2 separate regions of the Homo sapiens genome follow, and region 1 is linked to region 2. Evidence: promoter capture Hi-C in human tissues and cell types (Jung and others, 2019). All regions are on one chromosome and are shown on one strand. The core of a region is centred on a gene start or on the middle of the fragment in contact, and the rest is flanking DNA. Distances in the headings are between cores, read along the strand shown. Region 1 has its middle 360 kb from the start of BCKDHB. Region 2 holds the start of ELOVL4 (ELOVL fatty acid elongase 4).

Region 1 (4,927 bases), core at 1,102-3,601, 520 kb before region 2:
AATTTTCAGCAGCTTACTTCACTTCCACTACCAATGCAGGGCTATGCAGTCAGCCTTTTAAAACTAACCACTTTAAGCCCACAGTCTCTGACTCCTCTCATCTCTTCTACATTTGGGGAAATGCCACCACAGGGAGTGCATCTGGCTTCCCAGGAGGCTGCTAAAGGAGCTGAATGACCCAAACTGGAATGCAAGGTAGTTAACACTCTCTGGTGCTATCTTGGCCAAAGAGAGGCAGGGAAAAAAACCTGGGCAGCTCAATTTCCTCTGTCTTACTTTCTCCAATCAGCCTGCATAAAGAAGTCCTGTATGACTGAGTGTAGGCACCTACCAAATAACAGTAGGTGCTCTTTGCCCTGCTTTGTGAAGAAGCCAATGGAGGGGTAATGCTTCACCTTTCTTGGCTGCACCACTTACCTTTTCTCTTGTTCTCACTCTCCTGGGATTTAACTCCCAATAAAGCACTAGCACTTAATTCTTACCTGAGGCTCTATCTTCACTATCCTAGAATACAGAAACTAAGATGTACTGCAAATGTGGAAGAGCAGTATAATGAATATTGTGGCCTTTCTTCTGAGGTGAAATTTAATGGTTATGTTGGAAGAATAGTATGAAAGAAGTGTGAGGAATAAAGGGCAAGCAGTCTCCTTTCAACTGTTCAGTGAATGGCCTCCATTGGGCAAGACTGAGGAGAGGAATTTTTATTAGATATTAAGGTTTTCTTTTCAGATAAGGCAATTGAGCAATTATTCATAGAAATTCTAAGGAAGTTACTAATTTAAAATTTTATTTCACAAATAATAATTAGTAGAGCTAAGTGAATCACTAAAGATTTAAAGATGAGGCTGGGTGCAGTGGCTCACACCTGCAATCCCAGCACTTTGGGAGGCCGAGGTGGGTGGATCATGAGCTAAGGAGTTCAACACCAGCCTGACAAATATGGTGAAACCCCATCTCTACTAAAAATACAAAAAAATTAGCCGGGCGTGGTGACACATGCCTGTGGTCCCAGTACTCAGGAGGCCGAGGCAGGAGAATCACTTGAACCCAGGAGACAGAGGTTGCAGTGAGCCAAGATCGCGCCACTGCACTCCAGCCTGGGTGACAGAGTGAGACTCCACTTCAAAAGAATAATAATAATAATAAAGATTTAAAGATGAGAGAGACTCAATGCACTTGTAATCTGTGTTTGATGCAGGCAGACTCGGTCGGGTAGAAAGTGGGAGGGCACCTAACTAAGACTGGAGTGGTGGTGGAAAACCAGAGACTGTGCTTTGAAGGATATAGGAGTTATTCAAAGAAAGTAGGGAAGGTAGGAGGAATGAGCCCAAGGGAATGCTGGACACAATATTTCAGACATAGGGAACAGCAGATGGACAAGGCCCAAAACTTACTAACTGCATGCCTTTGTGTACATCACTTTACCTGTCTGAGTTTCATTATTCCCATATGTAAAGTGAGGAAGATAATACTGTAGTGTGACGAGGCCAGGAAAATTAAATGAGACAATATGTGTTCAATGTTATGGCATATAATAGATGCTTATGGGTGGTAGCTGTTTTTCTTTTAAGCCTTGAACATAGCCAAACCACTTTCTTTCTATTAGTTATGGATAGGAACTTTAAACAAACAACAAGGGCTAAGAAATCCCAGAACCTTTCAAATTTTGGAAAAAAAAAAGTATATTGAAAATCAAAATATTAGAAGCTCAAAACCTCAGAGAATCTAATCAAAGGCATTTCTCTATCTTTTAAACTCCTCACTTCTTTGCTTTGAGATAAATTTCACTCTCATATGTTGGTTTCCTCCACATCTACCTTATAAGGACAACAGTTTGTGTGTGAGCCTGTTTGAAGTCTACCAAGTCATAAGAATCAAACATACTTTTCATTGCCAAAGAAAAATATGTAGCCAAACCCTAACACAGCTTGAACTCACATGGAGTATCCTTTAAATTCTGAGAAATTTTTCAATTTGGCTAGAAAAACTAGTACCCCTTCAAAATTCAATACTTACCAAAAAGAAAAATCCAGCAAAACAAGTCTCTTTTCACTTTGCACATAAGAATTAAACAAAATGTCTATTTAATAACAAAACCACAATTCATAACAGATAATTCGAAATATGTTTGCACTTACTTAAAGCTTACAAATAAATCTAATTTAGGGAAACATGCAATTTTTAGCTCCTCACTTACTCATCCTTCTTTTTTGTTTAAATTGCAGGTGGGTGTCATTCCAAGCACTCTGAACTGTCCTGTGGAATTCAGAAAGTTCAGCTCTGCTCTGTGTTTGACAAGCTCCATTTTTCATGCGATGGCAGAAGACTGGAGACCTGAGGATATGTTCATGGTGGCTTGCTCCCAGTGCATCACAATCTGGAGAGGCCTCCGGCAGAACTATAGACAAATAATTTCAAGCTTCATTTGGAAGAAGAAAATCTATGGAAATATCAAGTCCTCTTGGCACTCTGTAACCACTGACAACCTTGATTTGATTCCCACAAATTCATGGAGCATCAGGTCCAACATTCTGGATTCTACTTGAATTCCCAAAAGCCATGAATGTGGAATTAAGTATTTCCCTGGCTTCAGAGATTATGGGGGCCATAATGCCTTCAAGAACCATAAAAGTTCTCTCTCATACTCACTTAGAAGGGCACGGAGAAGACTCCTGAAACACTGGCTATGTGCTTTCAGGGCCCAGTTTGTGGCTACTGTAACCTAAAATTAATTGTCTATTATCTCTCTATCATTCCCATGTCTGGATGTGAGCTGAAGGCACATCAGCTAAGAAAAGTTGCCCAGAAATCCTCATCTGATGCTTAGTGACTCTGAAATAATGCACGATATTTGAAGCATCTTCTTCTTCTTGGGTTATAATTCCACAATTAATTAGTTAATTCTAAAACATATCTGTTGAGTGCCTACCATGTACCAACTATTGAGAAAGACATTAGGGATATGATGTTGAAAAGATATAGCTCATGCCCTCAAATAACTCTTGAAGGAGAAAGATAAGTAAATAGGCATTGAAAATATTTTTTCATAAGTATCATGAAATATAAATGCATCAGATCTCATAGAAGTAACAAGAAAGAACTCCTAACTTAGGCCTAGAATTGAAAAGAGACAATATGTGTTTAATGCTACAGTATATGCTTAAAGGTAATAGTTGTTTTTCTTTTATGCCTTGAAAATAGTCAAACCACTTTTTATTTTTTATGGATAGGAACATGAAATAAACAGAAAGGGCTAGGAAAATCCAGTACCTTTATACATTTGAAAAAAAAAGTACATTGGTAATCAAAATATAAGAAGTTCAAAATCTCCAAGCATTTGATTAAAGGCAGTTCTTCTCTGTCTTTTAAACTCCTCATTTCTTTGCTTCATTTTCAGGTAAATTTTGCTGTCATCTGTTGGTTTTCTCCACATTTACATCATAAGGACAACTGTTTGTGTATTAGAAGCCAGACAAACAATGAGACCAACAAAGAGATTATTCCAGGAAGAAGGAAGGGCATAGGCAAAGACCCAGAGGAAAAACAGAAAATGGCTCATTGAACAATTTCAAGTATTTTAATATGGCCATAGGGTAGAGTACAAGAGGAAAGATGGAAAACACTAAAGCTAGAGAGATTAAAAAATAAAAAGAAATCAGAGCATCCAGGACTTCTTTACTTGCTTACAAGTTTGACTTTATGATTAGGATGATAGCAAATTTGGGGAGAGTTTTCATCAGGTGAAAGAAATGATCAGATGTCTATTTTGTAACACTTTGTAAAACTCTGAAGCATAGAGAAAAGAGTCAGGGAAAACCAGTTAGGAGTCTAAGGCAGTGATCAAGAAACAGACAATGGGAGCCTGAACTGAGACACTGACAATGAATATGACCAGATATGGATAAGATGAGAGAGGATTAGAATATAGACACAGTCTTGGATATTGATTATTTGTGGGAAAAAATGAAGGTGGACTCAAGAATGGTTTTTGAATGAGGCAACTAGGTGGTAGCATTTATGGAAACAGGAAGAATAGGAGAAGCAGGGCAGAACATAATGGGTTCAGTTTGGACACATTAAATGTGGGATACCAGAAGAACATCCAAGTAAAAAAATCTAGTGAGGTGTTGGAAATAGAGATTTTGATCTCAGAATATAATTGATTTTTAAATTCTTTATCCCATATGTAGTAGTTGATCTCATAAATAGATTACGTCACCAAGAGACTATGCGTTTAGTGTTTAATTCTAACAAGATCACGACAAAATCTCAGCAAGACCAACTATTAAGAGATTGGTCAAGAGCCATCATAAGGTAGAGTGGAGAATCTCTTTGAGAGTGAGGAATCTCAGATGCCAAGGAAGAGTTCAGCTCTGCTGAAGAGTTTCACAGAGAAGGAAGACTTTCACAGAGAAGAGTTCAGTCAACAATGTCAAAGTTTGCAGAGCAGTCAAGAAAGATAAGGTCTAAAAAGTGTCCACTTAACTCAGTGTAATTTCAAGCCAAGATCAGTCTTGTTCCAAAAGTATTAACTCAGCAGAGTTTTGAGTCACTGTGGGATAGAGCTCATCAGGTTTTTACAATAGTAACAAATGCTTCATGTCTCTTATTATTCATAACTGAAATATACCACTAAGTCAGGGAGCTCCAAGTCTCTTCAACTTCAATGTTTTGAGGATAAACCTAAAAACTGAACTTTTCCTGAACAAAAAGGGCTTGGGCTATTTTTGTTTTGCTTCCTTTATCAAGTTGTGAGCCAATGCTTGGGCATTCTTTACTCAGAGATGTAATAAATTTATTCACTGTTTAGGGTGGGGTATTCCAGACAGCTTTCCTGCTGTGTGCCCTTAAAGTGAAGGTCAAATAGAGTTCACTGGGAAATGTAAAGCAAGTGCCTCTGCATTAGTATTTGTTTTGTTCAGCAATA
Region 2 (5,100 bases), core at 1,862-4,361:
TAAGAAAAAAAGGCTTATATAGGCATGTAAAATTTATTTAGAATGGGAGACAAAATTATAGGGGGGATTTTCATTTTGTTTCTTTTTTTGTTATTTTATCTGTGCTAATGTATTATCAGGATAATCTATGTCCATTTAAATAAAATAAAAATAATTCATACAAGCTAACAAAAAGGTAAACATCTTTAAAAGTTTGAATGAAACATATCTCGTGGAAAACATTGTAATTCCAAGTTAGTCAAGCACCTGTGTTATATGATGGCTATAACGTGGGGGAGGAGTAATGAGCAGAATAAAACAAAAGACTGGAACTAATAGTAGTTAGTGTTATCAACAATTTTCTCCATTTTCTCTAAGTAGCATCCATGTAGCAAAATTTACTTCTAGAAGATTCAAAGTCTTTCTCTACAACTCTTTAATTAGGTTATTTCTTTTTACTCCTGACTCAACAGGCTTCCAGGTTCACTTTTCTTTGAAAGCAGAGGTTGCTGACAATATTACCAACATGGAAAGGTGGACTAGGAAAAAAAAGATGGATAGCTTGATTTATGTTGCTAACCTTGTATGGACTGTAGGACATTTAAAAATATTTTGTACTGGGTGTGGTGGCTCACTCCTGTAATCCCAGTGGTTTTGAAGGCCAAGGCAGGAGGATTGCTTGCAGGCAGGAATTTGAGACCAGCCGGGGCAACACAGCCAGTCCTCCTTCTCTATCAGCTATTTAGGAGGCTGAGGCAGGAGGATGAGGCAGGAGGATAGCTCGAGCCCAGGAATTCGATGTTGCACTAACCTATGATTACACCACTGCAATCCAGCCTAGCTGATAGAGTGAGACCCTGTTTCTAAAAAGAAAAAAATATTGCTATTTTATACAAAAAAATTTATGATAAAATGTCCTCTCCTTTAGGTTTTGTAGGTAACTGTATCCTATTTGCATTTGATCCACATGAAAGAACTCTGTTCTCAAAGTTTGCAGATGCTGTTGTTGCTTGTATTTGCTTTTACTCTGTTATGATGCTACCAAGATTTTGGTTAGATGGCTGTTATTCTAGGTGGCAGACATGCGGGTTTCCCTCCCTTTGCACAACTAAACAAGGTAGGCTTTGGTTCTGGGCAGTCACTGGTATTTACAAACCACTTATTCATGCCAGGTAATAGGGTTCCAGATTGGGTAAGTTTTATGTTCTGGTTCTTGGTATATGTTTAGACAGCTTATAAATGTAAATAAACATTCTACTCTTACAGGTGGAGTGTGGACACGGTGATATCCGTGTGACCGCCATTCCCAGCTGAAGGTTATCTCATCTATGATTTTCTTATACGTGACTGGCACCCCCTAGTGAATAGGGACTTAAGTTGACCTCCACGGTAGAAGAAATACCAGGGAAATACCTGAAGCTGTTTTAACAATTTCTCCTTGTATTAAGTATTATGCTGCAGTTTTGCGTGTGTGAATGGAAGTATGGGTAGAGATCTGTTCTCCCTAAAAACTCCAGGATTCCACAATATAGAAATAGTAATCAAATTTTTAGGTGAAGCTCGAACTAATCCGAACTTTGTTAGATCATCACTGTAAATGAATGGGTATTTATCCACTCCCTAAATGAAGAGACTTGACTGGATTTCTTTTTTTTATATAGCTACTAGAATCTGTTACACATAATTTAGGATTGAGACTTGAGAAATTGTCATTCCAATCCAGAAAACTTTAGATTTGCAAATATATTTGACAAATTAATAAATTAACATTTTATTTGGTTAATTTCAAGAATAGGGCATTTAAAGAAGTCTGTGTTTGCTTTAGTTCGGCAATAAAGTTCCTGCCACTCACAATAATCCTTATTATTCTCTGAAAGACATGTTATATTTTTGTCATCATAAATATTTATTAATTACTGTTTATAGCACTGGGTTAGGTACTCATCAAGCAACCAAAAATAATTCTTACCATCTAGGATGCTTCCAATATAAAATATAGACAATATATAACCAGGTCAATTGGGAAATAGATCATTTCAGTATGATAAAAGATAGTATTCACATTAACAGTGTGAAAGGGCAGGAACAATAAGACACTTGACTCACTGGTCTTTAAAATGTAGCATCCAAAATGAGCAAGTGGAGAAAAGGTTAAACAAGTAGGTGACACATTTAAAAAACAAGTAGATGAAAGGACTATTCTCAAAAATCTTGTTTTATGTGAGAAACCATCAAATTATGAATTCCAAGTACTGTATTTTTTTTACTTTTCAAGGGTAGGCTCTCCTATACCTTATCTAAACAATTTTTCAAAATAGCCACAATTACTTTGTTTTCCTCTCTACACTAAATTGCCCTTTGCCTCTTGAGCGATTATCTTTTTCAGATTCACCTCAACTTCTTCAGGTTCAAGCGGACTTCACCTGTAAGCCCCTCTCGGTTCTCCCTCTTCTCTGAACTACTAATGGCCTAATTTAGCACAATTATATTGCTTTGTTCATTCCATGTATAGTAAAAGAGTCTACAAAACACATGCAAGCATTCATGCAATTATATGTTGATTTGTTCATGGGTCGACCCCAAAGTCTATTCTCCATCGCTGAAGCATGGAAGACAAATACCCTTCACTTCTTCAGAGGCATAACACATGCACTTCTCTTGTCATGGTGACAGGCATGTGCTGGTGGAGGTCAAAGAAACAGGAACACAAGTGAAATCGAGGTGAGTGTCAGGTAAGGACCAAAGCACCACGCCTACCTCATCTTTGCCCACAGAACACCCATTCTTCCCGTGTCCTGTTTCCCAGGACGTATCCGGGGCGGATAAGAAATCACCCGTGGGGAGGCGGTGAACTCCTCCGCAGGGGCCGATGCCCGGGACAGGGGCGGGGAAGGCTAATGAGGCGACTTGTGCGGGGAGGGGCCAAGGAGGAGCCCAGGTGTCCCGCTCCCGCTCGACGGCGCGCGCCTGCGCGAGCCCAGTTGGCGTCGCACCCTTGAGCGCAGCATCCCTACGCCAGCGAGTCCCAATACTAGGGAGGGAGGGAGGGAGGAGGGGCGGCCGGCCCCCCGCCCCCGCGCGCGGCCACGTGACGCCGGCTGAGGAGATTGGAGGGGCGGCTGCGCGAGGCTGCAGACTGGTGCAGCGCACTGTGCTGGCGGCTGGGCCTCCTCCACCTCCTCGTCTTTCTCCCGGGAACCTTGACGACGCCTTCCGCTTGGCCCTGCCTTCTGCCGCATCCCCGCCGCCGCGGCGCCTTGAGGAGCAGGAGAAGACGCAGCCGGGCCGCCGCCGTTAGAGGGGTTCCCGGCCGCCGCTCGCCCCGTCGGCCGCCACCGCCTCCGGGGTCAGCCCTCTCTCTGGGTCTCCGCTTTCTCCTGCCGCCAGCGCCCGCTCATCGCCGCGATGGGGCTCCTGGACTCGGAGCCGGGTAGTGTCCTAAACGTAGTGTCCACGGCACTCAACGACACGGTAGAGTTCTACCGCTGGACCTGGTCCATCGCAGGTAAAGCCGCTGACTTCCCCATCCTCGCTCGGTCCCCCGCGGGGGGTCACCGGCCCCTGGTCTCGCAGCTCCCGGGCCCGGCCCCACAGGCCCCCGCGCCCTGCGGCTTTCGGATGCTGCGGATCAGCGGAGGGGCCGGCGCGGGCACTGCGGTTGAGCACTGGTTAATCTGATCCGAATGTTAAGGCCTCCCCTCCCCCGACACTCGCAGGGTTTTCTTCTGAGCTCCCTCCATCTCTCATCAGCTCTCGGATGCGGGAGCTGACATATCAGATGGAGCCTGTGCAGCCAGGAGCTCCTCGCAGGAGCCGCCCCACCCTGTGCTCCCACATCTCCCGAGCTCGCCTCCCTCTTCCCCGTGCACAGGATTCCTTTTAACATTTAGTCCTATTTTGTATGGAGAGCGGGCTGGGGAGGAAGGAGGGCTTCAGGGGCAGCTGAAGGTACAGGAGGTTTCTTCAGCCTCCTGGTCGCTTTGACAGAACCCTGCTAATCTTTTCTTCTATCTAGCTCCTTCATCTATAGTATAATTCGGACTGAAAAGTAAAATAATATTGTTTGGCTCCTTGAACCTTGAAGAATGTTAGTTTCCGAGGCATTTTCAACAGCAAATATGTTTGAAGTGATTGTCTATAATGGCTTTGCGCACTGCAGTGCAGTCAGGGGGAGGGGGAGGCCAAAACACCGGGGAAGAAATCAGTCTTTAGGAAGGGGGTCTCTACAGCAACACCTAGAGGTTGTCCCAGATGCCTACATATATACAGTTCTTAAATCAGCAAACTTTTCTTTAGCTGTTGCAGTTAATTTGGCAGGGCTGTCAATTGTTTGATTTATGCAGCTTTCCTAGCGTCCAACTGTGATATTATATTTTTACATTGTACTGTTTATTTCTTCATTTGCTTCGCTGCTTTTGATTTTAAAGCATTTAAAAGTCTTTGAAATCTAAAATAAGGTTTAAAGGATTTCAGAAATGATTTTACGAGGTCAATTTTTCTGGTCCTTTTGCAGTATCACACTGCATCCTATCAGTGAAGGATATTAACGTTCCATCTTATGACTCTGCCTTCCCTACTTCGAAATGAAAATGTACTCCTGTAGTTTTTGTGTTCATTGTTGTTAGAGGAAATTAGACAGTGGTTACAGCATGAATGTAGTCCGATACATAGGGCTTATGTTTTGGGAAAAACGTATGCTGGAATTATTTTTGTGAGAGACAAAATGATTATTTGGCATTAATACTGCATTCACTTCTTTAGAAAAGTATGTTCTTTTTCAGAAGATCTCAACTTTGACACTGGGAAATAAGCTATTTAATAAGCCATTACAGCTGAAAATGGTTAAAAGGCAGTTTTCAATGGAGTGTTTCTTCAGTTTTTTTTTTTGTTTCTATGCGCTATTACACTGATGTTACACTGTACCTGCAAAAACTGGGAAAGATGTGCCCTTCCCTTCACGTCTGTGATTTCGGTTCTTTAAACGTTGCATCAGGGCTTCCCATTACACAATTGTATAGAGCTGAACATCAGACAAGTTCTTTAGCAGGTAATTGCACTTCGCACACCTAGGAGTCAGACACTGTTGAGATACTCCAGTCTCCATATAGCCAGAGCCACACC

Evidence for each region. The method cuts DNA at HindIII sites, captures the fragments that hold promoters and counts their contacts. A contact is called where the count stands out against the background at its distance.
Region 1: a contact is called between a fragment that was not itself captured here and the fragment with the promoter of ELOVL4 in region 2, in 1 of the 25 tissues and cell types used here (aorta).

The regions. Positions count from the first base shown.
Region 1 is chr6:80,460,343-80,465,269 of GRCh38, reverse strand. It overlaps a transcript of BCKDHB not described here. Among named protein-coding and RNA genes, the nearest start is that of BCKDHB, 360 kb to the right of the region's middle. The HindIII fragment of the contact is 3,155 bases long and covers 774-3,928 here.
Region 2 is chr6:79,945,564-79,950,663 of GRCh38, reverse strand. It overlaps ELOVL4 (ELOVL fatty acid elongase 4), which reads left to right and starts at 3,111. Exons shown (of 6, transcript NM_022726.4): 1 at 3,111-3,484. The coding sequence starts at 3,385. LOC124901350 reads left to right here and starts at 1,031. Exons shown (of 2, transcript XM_047419628.1): 1 at 1,031-1,096; 2 at 2,653-3,277. The coding sequence starts at 2,849. The coding sequence ends at 3,277. LOC124901351 (a long non-coding RNA gene) reads right to left here and starts at 2,859. Exons shown (of 3, transcript XR_007059656.1): 1 at 2,737-2,859. RefSeq lists a silencer at 3,002-3,051. The HindIII fragment of the contact is 11,635 bases long and covers 1-5,100 here.